Regions from separate parts of the Homo sapiens genome. Here all the other regions are linked to region 2. The links are contacts of gene promoters, found by promoter capture Hi-C in blood cells and fetal thymus (Javierre and others, 2016). All regions are on one chromosome and are shown on one strand. Each heading gives the region's core, a stretch centred on a gene start or on the middle of the fragment in contact. The rest is flanking DNA. Distances are from core to core; before and after follow the strand shown. Region 1 holds the start of ZNF644 (zinc finger protein 644). Region 2 holds the start of PKN2 (protein kinase N2). Region 3 has its middle 5.4 kb from the start of ODF2L.

Region 1 (3,239 bases), core at 1-2,500, 2.3 Mb before region 2:
CTGGAGGCGAAAAGCGGGGAGCGGAGGGGGGCCGCTGGAGCCGAGTAGCGTACAGAGCGGCGTGTGACGCGGGGACGCCGCGTGCTCCCAACGTCGCCCCGGTTTGACGCACACGGCACCAAACTGTGAGTTTCAGGGGTTATTTGGTCAGATTCGCTGGGACCCGAGTGGGTTTCGGGCCTCTGGGCTGTGGCAGCGGCGGGACTGAGGGTGGCGGAAGAACTTGGGGGACCCGGCCTCCGGCTCTCGGGCCCGGGGAGCTACGCCCTAGGCTGGGTCCCAGCCATCCAAAAGGACGCATTTTGCCGCACAGGCTAAGATGGCGGCGGCGGCCGAGGAGGCGGAGTTGGTGCTACACAAGGAGCCCGGGCCCCGGGTTCGGGGAGGCGGCGGCCGCGGCGGTCGCTGGGGGCCACGGAGCCTGAGGTGAGCGGCGGCCGCCGCCGCGGGGCGGGACTCGGCGGGGGGATGGGGGGGGGGCTTTCCGCTGCGGCGTCGGAGGATCCGGTAGCGGACACAAAGGGGCTGAGCTGGGCACTAGACTTGGGGGTTTTGTTTAGTCACATGAAGCCGAGCAGCCAGTGAGCAGTAGGGGGAAGGGGCCGAGATCAGGCGGCTTGGGGAGCCTGGCGGTCGCCATTGCAATGCACTGAGTAACGGGGCGGGCCGAGAGCAGTCACCAACCCCTCTCGTTGAGGCTGCTCGGTTGTGGCCAGAAACGCTGGCTCTGGCATTAACTGTCTACACCCCTCCCCTTACTTGGGACAGGACCGCATAGCCCTCCCCTCCCCCCGTCCTGCAAGATCTTATGCGGCTAGGTGCCTGGGAAGTAACAGCAAGAGGTAAATCGCTCGAAGTGTTTGGGTTGCCAGGGGCTTGGTGGGTGTCCAGCTAAAGCTTTTTGCCTCTCCAGGTCTGATTCTCTGGCCTTTGTGTCCCTGGGAAGTTACTCTGCCAGAGGAAAGCAGGTGTGCTCCACTTCTCCCGTGAACCTGAAGATGAGTTGTCCCAGACTCTTCTCAGTGATTGGAAACTTAGGTGGTGGAGCTAAAGGTTACTTGTTACGAGACTTCTACAGACAACTCTTGTTGGGATCCATCTATGGTTTAGCAACATTAGTGGAAAAGTTTTCTTGAATATTGACTTTGAATATAAAAACGTTTATATTTAGACTTCAGATTTTGTGTGATCATCAAACTCAACGAGGGGATAAACATAATTGGGGGCGAATGATGGTCTTGTCTTGTTAATAATTTCAACAGAAGTATCACAACACCGCCGACTATCCTGTCCAGTCCTAATTCCACGCTTGTTGCATCTGGATGGTAGATTTGTTTTAATTGTGTATTCCCTCCCTGCAGTAGTTTGCTTTAGTTGTAAACATTTTTTGGTCCCATGAGAAGGAAAACATTTCAAAAAATAGACAACTAAAGTTTCTCAAAGAAAGGAAACCTGGCTGTTTGCCTTCAGTTGCATGTGTAAGTATCTAGGGAACTTGATGGCAGTAATATTGCATTTTGGTAGGCTTGCTAAGAAAAACCTCGTTTTTATAATAAGGCTATAATCTAGCTTAGACATTTTAATTGGTGAAGCATAAAGCTTGATTAGTATTAATGCAGTGGTATGTATTGCTTTTAAAAGTCTTACAATTTCTAACAAATTAAAGTTATACTGCAATTATATCATACTTTGTGTTGGTATTAACTCATGAAGTACAAAATTTTGAAACACCTAATGTTTTGTGTTGGCAATTAACAGAATTCCTTGGTTGGAGGGATATTTAAACACATTAGATCACTGTGTAGATCTCTGTGTTCAAACTGAAATTTGAATTTTTCAACATTAGTTAACTTTCATTTCCTTGTTCTTTTCAGATATATATTTTCTCTTTTTTTAGCTTCTAATACAGAACAGTCTTGTATTAATGAATAGGAGATGCATTAACATTAGCAAATGTATTCCTGGATCATAAAGTTTTACAGTGGAAGCAATATCAAAGAACAACTGCTCTTACCCTCCTCTTTTACAATATATTGAGGACCAGAGATGATTAAGTTAGTGGCATAATGGAAAATTGCCTTTCAGCCTCTACCCATTGCTGTTTGTATTTGTCATATTGCTGGGATGAGAAGGTGAATATCTACAACTAATGGTTAAAAAAACAAGGGAATGTTATTGAGAATACTTGTTAATTAAATATTGTTAGGTTCATGAGAACTTCTGTGACAATAAGTTAAAAACTTTCATATTGGCCTGGCACGGTGGCTCACGCCTGTAATCCCAGCACTTTGGGAGGCTGAGGCGAGCAGATCACGAGGTCAAGAGATCGAGACCATCCTGGCTAACATGGTGAAACCCCGTCTCTACTAAAAATGTAAAAATTTCCTGGGCGTGGTGGTGCCTATAGTCCCACCTACTCGGGAGGCTGAGGCAGGAGAATCACTTGAACCCGGAAGGCAGAGGTTGCAGAGAGCTGAGATCGTGGCACTGCACTCCAGTCTGGTGACACAGCAAGACTACATCTCAAAACAAAAAAACAAAAAAACTTTCATATTCTGTGGTTAACTTGGTTTTTAAAGTGACTTTCAGTGAAACAAAATCAGGTACAAAATACAGAAATATCAGATAGTTTCAGAGCAATGTTGCTTTTGAATTTTAAGGTTTTCCAAATGCAGTCTTGACCCAGAAATTGAAAAATTAAAAAACAACAACCAGGGACTTGATAAATTTCTTTGAAAGTTTGAAATAACTGCTGTTATTGCCAGTTATTATGTAGGAAAAGAAATGAGATCAATGCTGAAAATAATGGTGTCTTTCATTTTGTAATAGTGTTTTGGTTGGATAAACGAATGTGCCACTCAGAATGTTCCCTTTCTTTAAAACAACTTTTTAAGACTACTACTTCTACTGAGTGGTACCTCTAAGGTCTGTTAGGAAATTGAACAAGTAGTGACAGTCATTTATGGTGGAACCCTATAGTGATTTTTAACTTCTTTGAATGTCAGATTTAGCAAAAAGTTAAATTGTTTTAAGGTTTTAAAAGTTTTTATGGGTCATATAAGGTGCTTTTAAATTACTGATTTTTGTTAGTTGATAAGCTGTTTTATAATTTTCAACATTATGTGAGTGGATTTACTTACACTTTCATTTTGTGAAAATTAGAGTCACTTTCAGGTTATTTGTAGTTATAAAGTGGTCTGTCACCTGCCAACCTTAAACATTTTCCAGTTTTAGTTTGT
Region 2 (2,836 bases), core at 243-2,742:
AAAAATTAACTGTCCAACACACAAAAAGAAATGCAGGCATGCTATTTTTTTCTCCTAATTCCCATCTACAATCTTTGAGTAGCTAAAAGATAACTATATTAAAATAAAGCAAAATAACTTTTAAGTCAAAAAACAAACATCTCTGGAACACTCCCAAGTAATGAAAAACCCGACAGGGTAGCTTAAGTCCCCATGTACACCATAGAGATCTAAAGAAAATCGTGCCTACATTATCAAATATTTATCTGGAAATGGGAAATAACATTGCTACTCGACATGACTTAACTAAGCGATCTACTTTGCTCTCATCTTTTGCAGACATGTGGTGCCCAATGTTTTCCCTTAGTCGACTGCTTTCTCATTAGTAAACAACTTATTAGCTCTTTCTCTGGTGCTCAAATGAGAGGGAAAATGAAAGTCTGAAAAGCATCAGCATCTGAGCTCCCGGATCTGGGCAGGGGTAGCAGAGAAAGGCACCCTGTATTTATCACTCGGTTAAAAAAAAAAAAAGAAAGGAAAAGAAAAGAAAAAGATAACCCTCAAAATAGAGGAAAGAAACTCTGTCACCTGAAGAGGGCTGCTGAAGTGAAGCAAACATTTGGTGAGACTCGTTTTTTAAAAAAACTTGTCTAGGGGCTGGAAGTTATGGGGGCGCTCTTTGTGCGGAGTCTGAGGGGAGGGGGAGGGACAAGAAAACAGCTTGGGAGTCATTCAAAGGAGTTTAAGGAGCGGTGTACGGAGGAAAGGCGGGGCGGGGCCCGGCCGCGCGAAGGGAGGGGGCAACAGGGGCGTTCGCGGGTAGCTCTGACACCGAGGGAGGGGGCGACGGGCCGGCCTCTCCGGGGACCAGGCGAGAGCAGGCTCCCGCTGCAGCAGGGCTGCAGAGATGGGGTCCCCTCTGGTAGGCAGAATCAAACCAAAGCGGTGGCAGGCCAGGGCTTTGGCGGGGGAGAGGGTCCGGCTCCCCAGGGAAGCGGTTCCCCGAGGGAAGCATTTCCCGAGTGACATCCCGGAGTTTCCGCACTTAGCGGGCTAGGGGCGCGGCGGCCGCAGGGCTTTCCTCGGTCCCCGACGCCGCGCGGGGCTCTCTCCCTGTCTCCTCCGCCAGCGCCTCTCACCAGGGCCGCGGCCCTTACCTGCAGTTCCGTGAGCAGAATCTCCCCCCGTTCGGGGTTGGACGCCATTGCGCTCCGGTATGGACTCCGCACCTGGACGCGGCCGCCTCTGGCGAAGGGAGAAGGCGGGACGGGGCTCGGGGTGGGGGTGAGGAGAGGGGAGAGAAAGAAAAAAAAAAAAACAACTAGGGATTCATGGAGGCGCAGCCCCTGCTGGAGGCGCGGCTTATTCCGTCCGGTTCATCGAGAGCGGCGGGGAGCTAGGGCACTCGTAGCGGGCTTCCTCTCGCCGCCCTCACCGGACTGTTCGTCTAGTCGCTCCCTCTGGGCGACGCCAGGAGCCGCCTCAAGCCTCTCCGTGCGGGCGCTGCGGCCGCGGCTGCAGCTCCTCCTGTCGCACCATTTGGCTGTCACCGCGTCGCAAAAGCGGCCTCACTTGGCGGCTGCCAGCACACGTGACGGCGGCAGCCACTGCCCCTCATCGGGCAGGGAAGGTGGGGCGGAGGGGTTCCCTAGGGCGAACGCGGCGAGGGGGCGGGGCGTCTTCCGACCCGACTCCGCGGCGAGGGCAGCCATTGGACTCGGCTGGGGTGAAAATGAGGGGAAAGGACTGGGCTCGAGTCTCTGGGGAGGCGGGAAGAGGAAGAAAACACACGCCTACTTTCCTGCTGCGTTTAACGGCTTCACTGTGAACGCTAGAACTCGGGAGCCTGCTCGCTGTTGTTTTTTCGGGTTTCGTTTTTTTTTTCTTTCTTTTTTTTTTTTCCCAGTTCCACCTTGCCGAAACTTGGGCCTAACTTTAACAGGCCCTTTTCTAACCTCCATAACCCAAAGAGCTTCGGGACTCAGATCTTACAGATTATTCCTCTGCTCTCCCCTTGACCCCCACGTCAACCCAAACTAATAATCTTGCCTTTTGCTCACCCTCAAACCCAGCCCCCAGCGCGCCTTCTCGACCAGTTAAGGTGCACAGCTAGCTAAACGGGTATGGTCTGTACTTTTCATGAAATGTAAGCGGCTGGATCCCTGGCAACTTTTAATGTACGGCCTTTAAGATGTCTTTTTCTTGAGGTTGAACTACTGTTGCTTGTACTGGAGAACTGTACAGAGCTGAGAATTAGCTGGGTTTTTTTGGGTTGTTTTAACTTTATTTAAGGGAGGGGGAGGTGGGACGGGATTACCCTCGGGAAAGGAAAAAAGCCACCTTTCCTTGGCGTGGTAAGCATTAAAGCTAACCTGACTACTTAGTAAAATATAGCTAAGTAAAGTAAATCTAGGTGTTTGTTTTTAATGACACTATGGTATTAAGGAATTTCGAAGTCTCCTACAGGTAGCTTTTGTTTTTGTTTTGTCTGAGCAGTGAATGGATAGGTAAACGCGTAACTTTTGATTTTTTGAAGCTGCGGTACAATACCTTTGTTAAAACTACCTGGAGAGAGTGGTAAGGGTTATTTAGGTACGTTGCTACTTAGAAAGGGCATTCGTTGACATATTTCTTAGGAAGTGTAACATTATGTACTTCTCACACGCTCCATGTAACTCTGTTGGCCTGATGCCAGGACTTAACGTCTATCCTTTTGCCTTCTCAAGTCTCATACATCAATTCAGCAAACATGTATTGAAGATCTGGAGTTCTGTGGCCACAGTTTCTGAACTCTAACTTATCATATGTGTGATAAAGAATTTTTCTGGTGTGTACTTCACAAGTCTTACAACTATTT
Region 3 (3,072 bases), core at 514-3,013, 2.3 Mb after region 2:
AGGAATGAACCATTTTCTTCATTTGGCCTGGATAAAGTTAGCAGTGTCTGGCTTTTTAGGCCCCAGGCAGGCAGCTTAATAAACCTTTCCCTTGCAAATTCTAGTCTCCAAAAGTATTGCCCTTTGTCCTGCTGGTAATAATGTAGGAAACTAGCAACAAGGCTTCCAGGGATTTCCTGAAAACAGTGGATCTGATTCTGCTTGTGTTTTTCATCAGTGACCACCCCCAAGTGGACCCTCGCATTACTCCCTTCAATTAATTGCCTCAGCTTGCCATCTGAGCAATTGACAAGGATGTGCCAGGCCTAGGTTAAACTTTAAAACATGCTTAACCATTGTATTTCCTGATCCTTTCAGAACAGCTTTCTACATTTTGGTTTATGGGGCCCTCAAATATAGCTGGAAATTGAGTTAGAGGTATAAGAATGCCTTAAAATATGCCAGCTTATGAGGCCATCAATTAGGTTGGTTGGCTCCACAGTTAGCCTGCCAGGAATAGATACTATAGATGTTACTCTTACACTGTAAAACACTGTGAAATCAGATTACTTTTAAATGATGTATCACAAAGTCATGGAAAAAAGCAGTTGTGAGTATGGAATCCCAGGTCTTCTATCCCAGCTTGTTTTCACTCTGCCTGTAAAATGGGAGCTAATATCCTCCAGCCTGTCCGACTCACATGTTGGTTAAAAGGATTAAGCAAAATAATAGTTTGTAATTTATAATTCTATACAAAGCAAAGATATTATTTATAAAAGGGAGAGACATGAAAGAGCTTGCTTCCCTCCTCTCTCTACCATGTGGGAGTACGACAAGAAGGCATCCTTCTGCAAATCAAGAAGAGGGCCCTCACCAGGAACCAAATTGGCTGGCACCTTGATCTTGGTCTTCTCAAATTTCTGTTGTTTAAGCCACCCAGTCTATATTTTTGTTACAGCACTCCAAACTAAGACATGCGCTGATACTCTATCTTGTAAAGCAAAGTTGTTCTGTTGCCCCAAGACTTTGCTCAATTCTTGTCTGACTTGCCCTGTGGACAACCGTCTTTGTAGTAAATGGAGTCTAGCCAATTTTAAGACTTATATAAAACTACAGTAATCAAGAGAATGTCATGTAGGCAAATGTTTTGATTATAAATTATTAGAATAGAATGGATTGTCCAGAAATAAACACACACACACATGGTCTAATCATTTTCAACAAAAGCACTAAATTGATTCAATGGGGAAGAGAAAGTCTTTTAAATAAATGGTGGTACCAAATTGGGTATCTGTATAAAACAAAGTGAATCTTGACCCCTTACATCATTCCTAAAAAACTTAATTCAAGATAGGTCATATACTTACTTATAAAAGCTTCAAATAATAAAACTTCTAGAAGAAAACATAGCGACTTCACAAATGTGGAGTTGCGGTACATTAAACTATAAAAGAAAAATGCTGGTAAGTTAGATGTTTCAAATAAAAATTTTCTGCTCTTCAAAAGATACCATTAAGAAAATATATGAGAAATAGGAGGAAAGTATTAGTTACATATATCTGACAAATCGTTTTTCAGAATATGTAAACAACTCCTGAAAATCAACAATAAAACAACAATCCAAAAAAATGGGTAAAAGACTTGAACAACACTTCATAAATGATGTACGGTCAATAACTGAAAGGTGCTAAACATCATTCATTACCAAAAAAAACCACAAATTGAAATCCATAATGAGCTGCCACCTCACACCCCCTAGAACAGTTAAAATAAAAAATACTGCTGTACTAAATGTTGGCAAGGATGTGAAGCAACAGGAAGCATCATACACTGCTGGTAAAGTTAAACATACTTATACCCTATAACCAGTAATTCCACTCCTAGCTAAGAAAAATGAAAGCATATGTTAATAAAATGCGTTTTAAAGAATGCTTATAGCAGCCTTATTCATTAATAACTAGAAGCTGCCAACAACCTAAATATCTATCAACAGGAGCACTAATAAGCAAATTGTGGTATATTTACACAATGAAATACTACTATATAGTAGGCTGTTCTTACGTTGCTATAAAGAAATACCTGAGGCTGGGTAATTTATAAAGAAAAGAGGTTTAATTGGCTCATAGTTCTATAGGCTGTACAAGCATTGCACCAACATCTGCTGGGGTTCTGTGAGGGCTTCAAGAAGCTTATAATTATGGCTTACAAGAAGGTTAAGGGGAGCAACCACATCACATGATGAGAGCAGCAGCAAGAGTTGGGATTGGAGAGGTGCAACACACTTTTAAACAACAGGTCTCACATGAATTCAGACCAAAACTCACTTATCATCAAGGGGATGGTACTAAACCATTCATGAGGGATATGCCCCCATGATCTGACACTTCCAACATCAGACCCCACCTCCAACACTGGGGATTACATTTCAACATGAGATTTGGAGAGGACAAACATGCAAACTATATCAACTACTCAGCCAAAAAAAAAAAAAAAAAAAAAAACTACTAAACTATGCAACAACATGGATGAATCTCAATCTCAAAAAAAAAGAACAAACTACTAAAATATGCAACAACATGGATGAATCTCAATCTCTCTCTCTCGCTATATATATATATATATATTCATTCAAATATGTGGGTGTGTATATATATGTATATACACATATATACATATATACACACACACATGCCTATTTGAATGAAAGAAGTCAGACAAAAAGGAATATATATTGTGTGATTCCATTTATATGAACACCAAGAATAGGCAATATTAACCTCTAGTCATATAAATTAGAAAGTAGTAGTCTCTCTGTGTGTGGGCTAGGGGAGGATGGAGAGGCATGAGGGTAGTTTTGGTGAACTGACAAGCTACAGACAGATACAAATAAACACTTTGGACTGACATAAATGTTCTAAATTTTGTTTTAGGTATTATTTTCATGAGTGCATATAATTATATAATTGGCAAAAGTCATACTCTGAACATTTAATACATATGTACTTTATTGAATATAAATTATACAACCATTTAAAAGTGGCCTATAATCCTCAGGAATTAAGTAGTCACTGAAGGCATACCTTTGTTGGGAAT

What was found. The method cuts DNA at HindIII sites, captures the fragments that hold promoters and counts their contacts. A CHiCAGO score of 5 or more calls a contact.
Region 1: a fragment that was not itself captured here is called in contact with the fragment with the promoter of PKN2 in region 2 in 2 of 17 cell types (non-activated CD4 T cells and naive CD4 T cells); the score reaches 6.9 in non-activated CD4 T cells.
Region 3: a fragment that was not itself captured here is called in contact with the fragment with the promoter of PKN2 in region 2 in 1 of 17 cell types (fetal thymus); the score reaches 7.0 in fetal thymus.

Annotation. Positions count from the first base shown.
Region 1 is chr1:91,018,876-91,022,114 of GRCh38, reverse strand. ZNF644 (zinc finger protein 644) reads left to right here and starts at 80. Exons shown (of 6, transcript NM_201269.3): 1 at 80-125. RefSeq lists silencers at 1-90, 421-490 and enhancers at 1-273, 274-823. The HindIII fragment of the contact is 702 bases long and covers 900-1,601 here.
Region 2 is chr1:88,682,929-88,685,764 of GRCh38, reverse strand. PKN2 (protein kinase N2) reads right to left here and starts at 1,492. Exons shown (of 22, transcript NM_006256.4): 1 at 1,137-1,492. The coding sequence starts at 1,184. PKN2-AS1 (PKN2 antisense RNA 1) reads left to right here and starts at 561. Exons shown (of 4, transcript NR_110682.1): 1 at 561-601. RefSeq lists enhancers at 1,218-1,297, 1,328-1,657. The HindIII fragment of the contact is 6,383 bases long and covers 1-2,836 here.
Region 3 is chr1:86,400,160-86,403,231 of GRCh38, reverse strand. No RefSeq gene overlaps it. Among named protein-coding and RNA genes, the nearest start is that of ODF2L, 5.4 kb to the right of the region's middle. The HindIII fragment of the contact is 812 bases long and covers 1,358-2,169 here.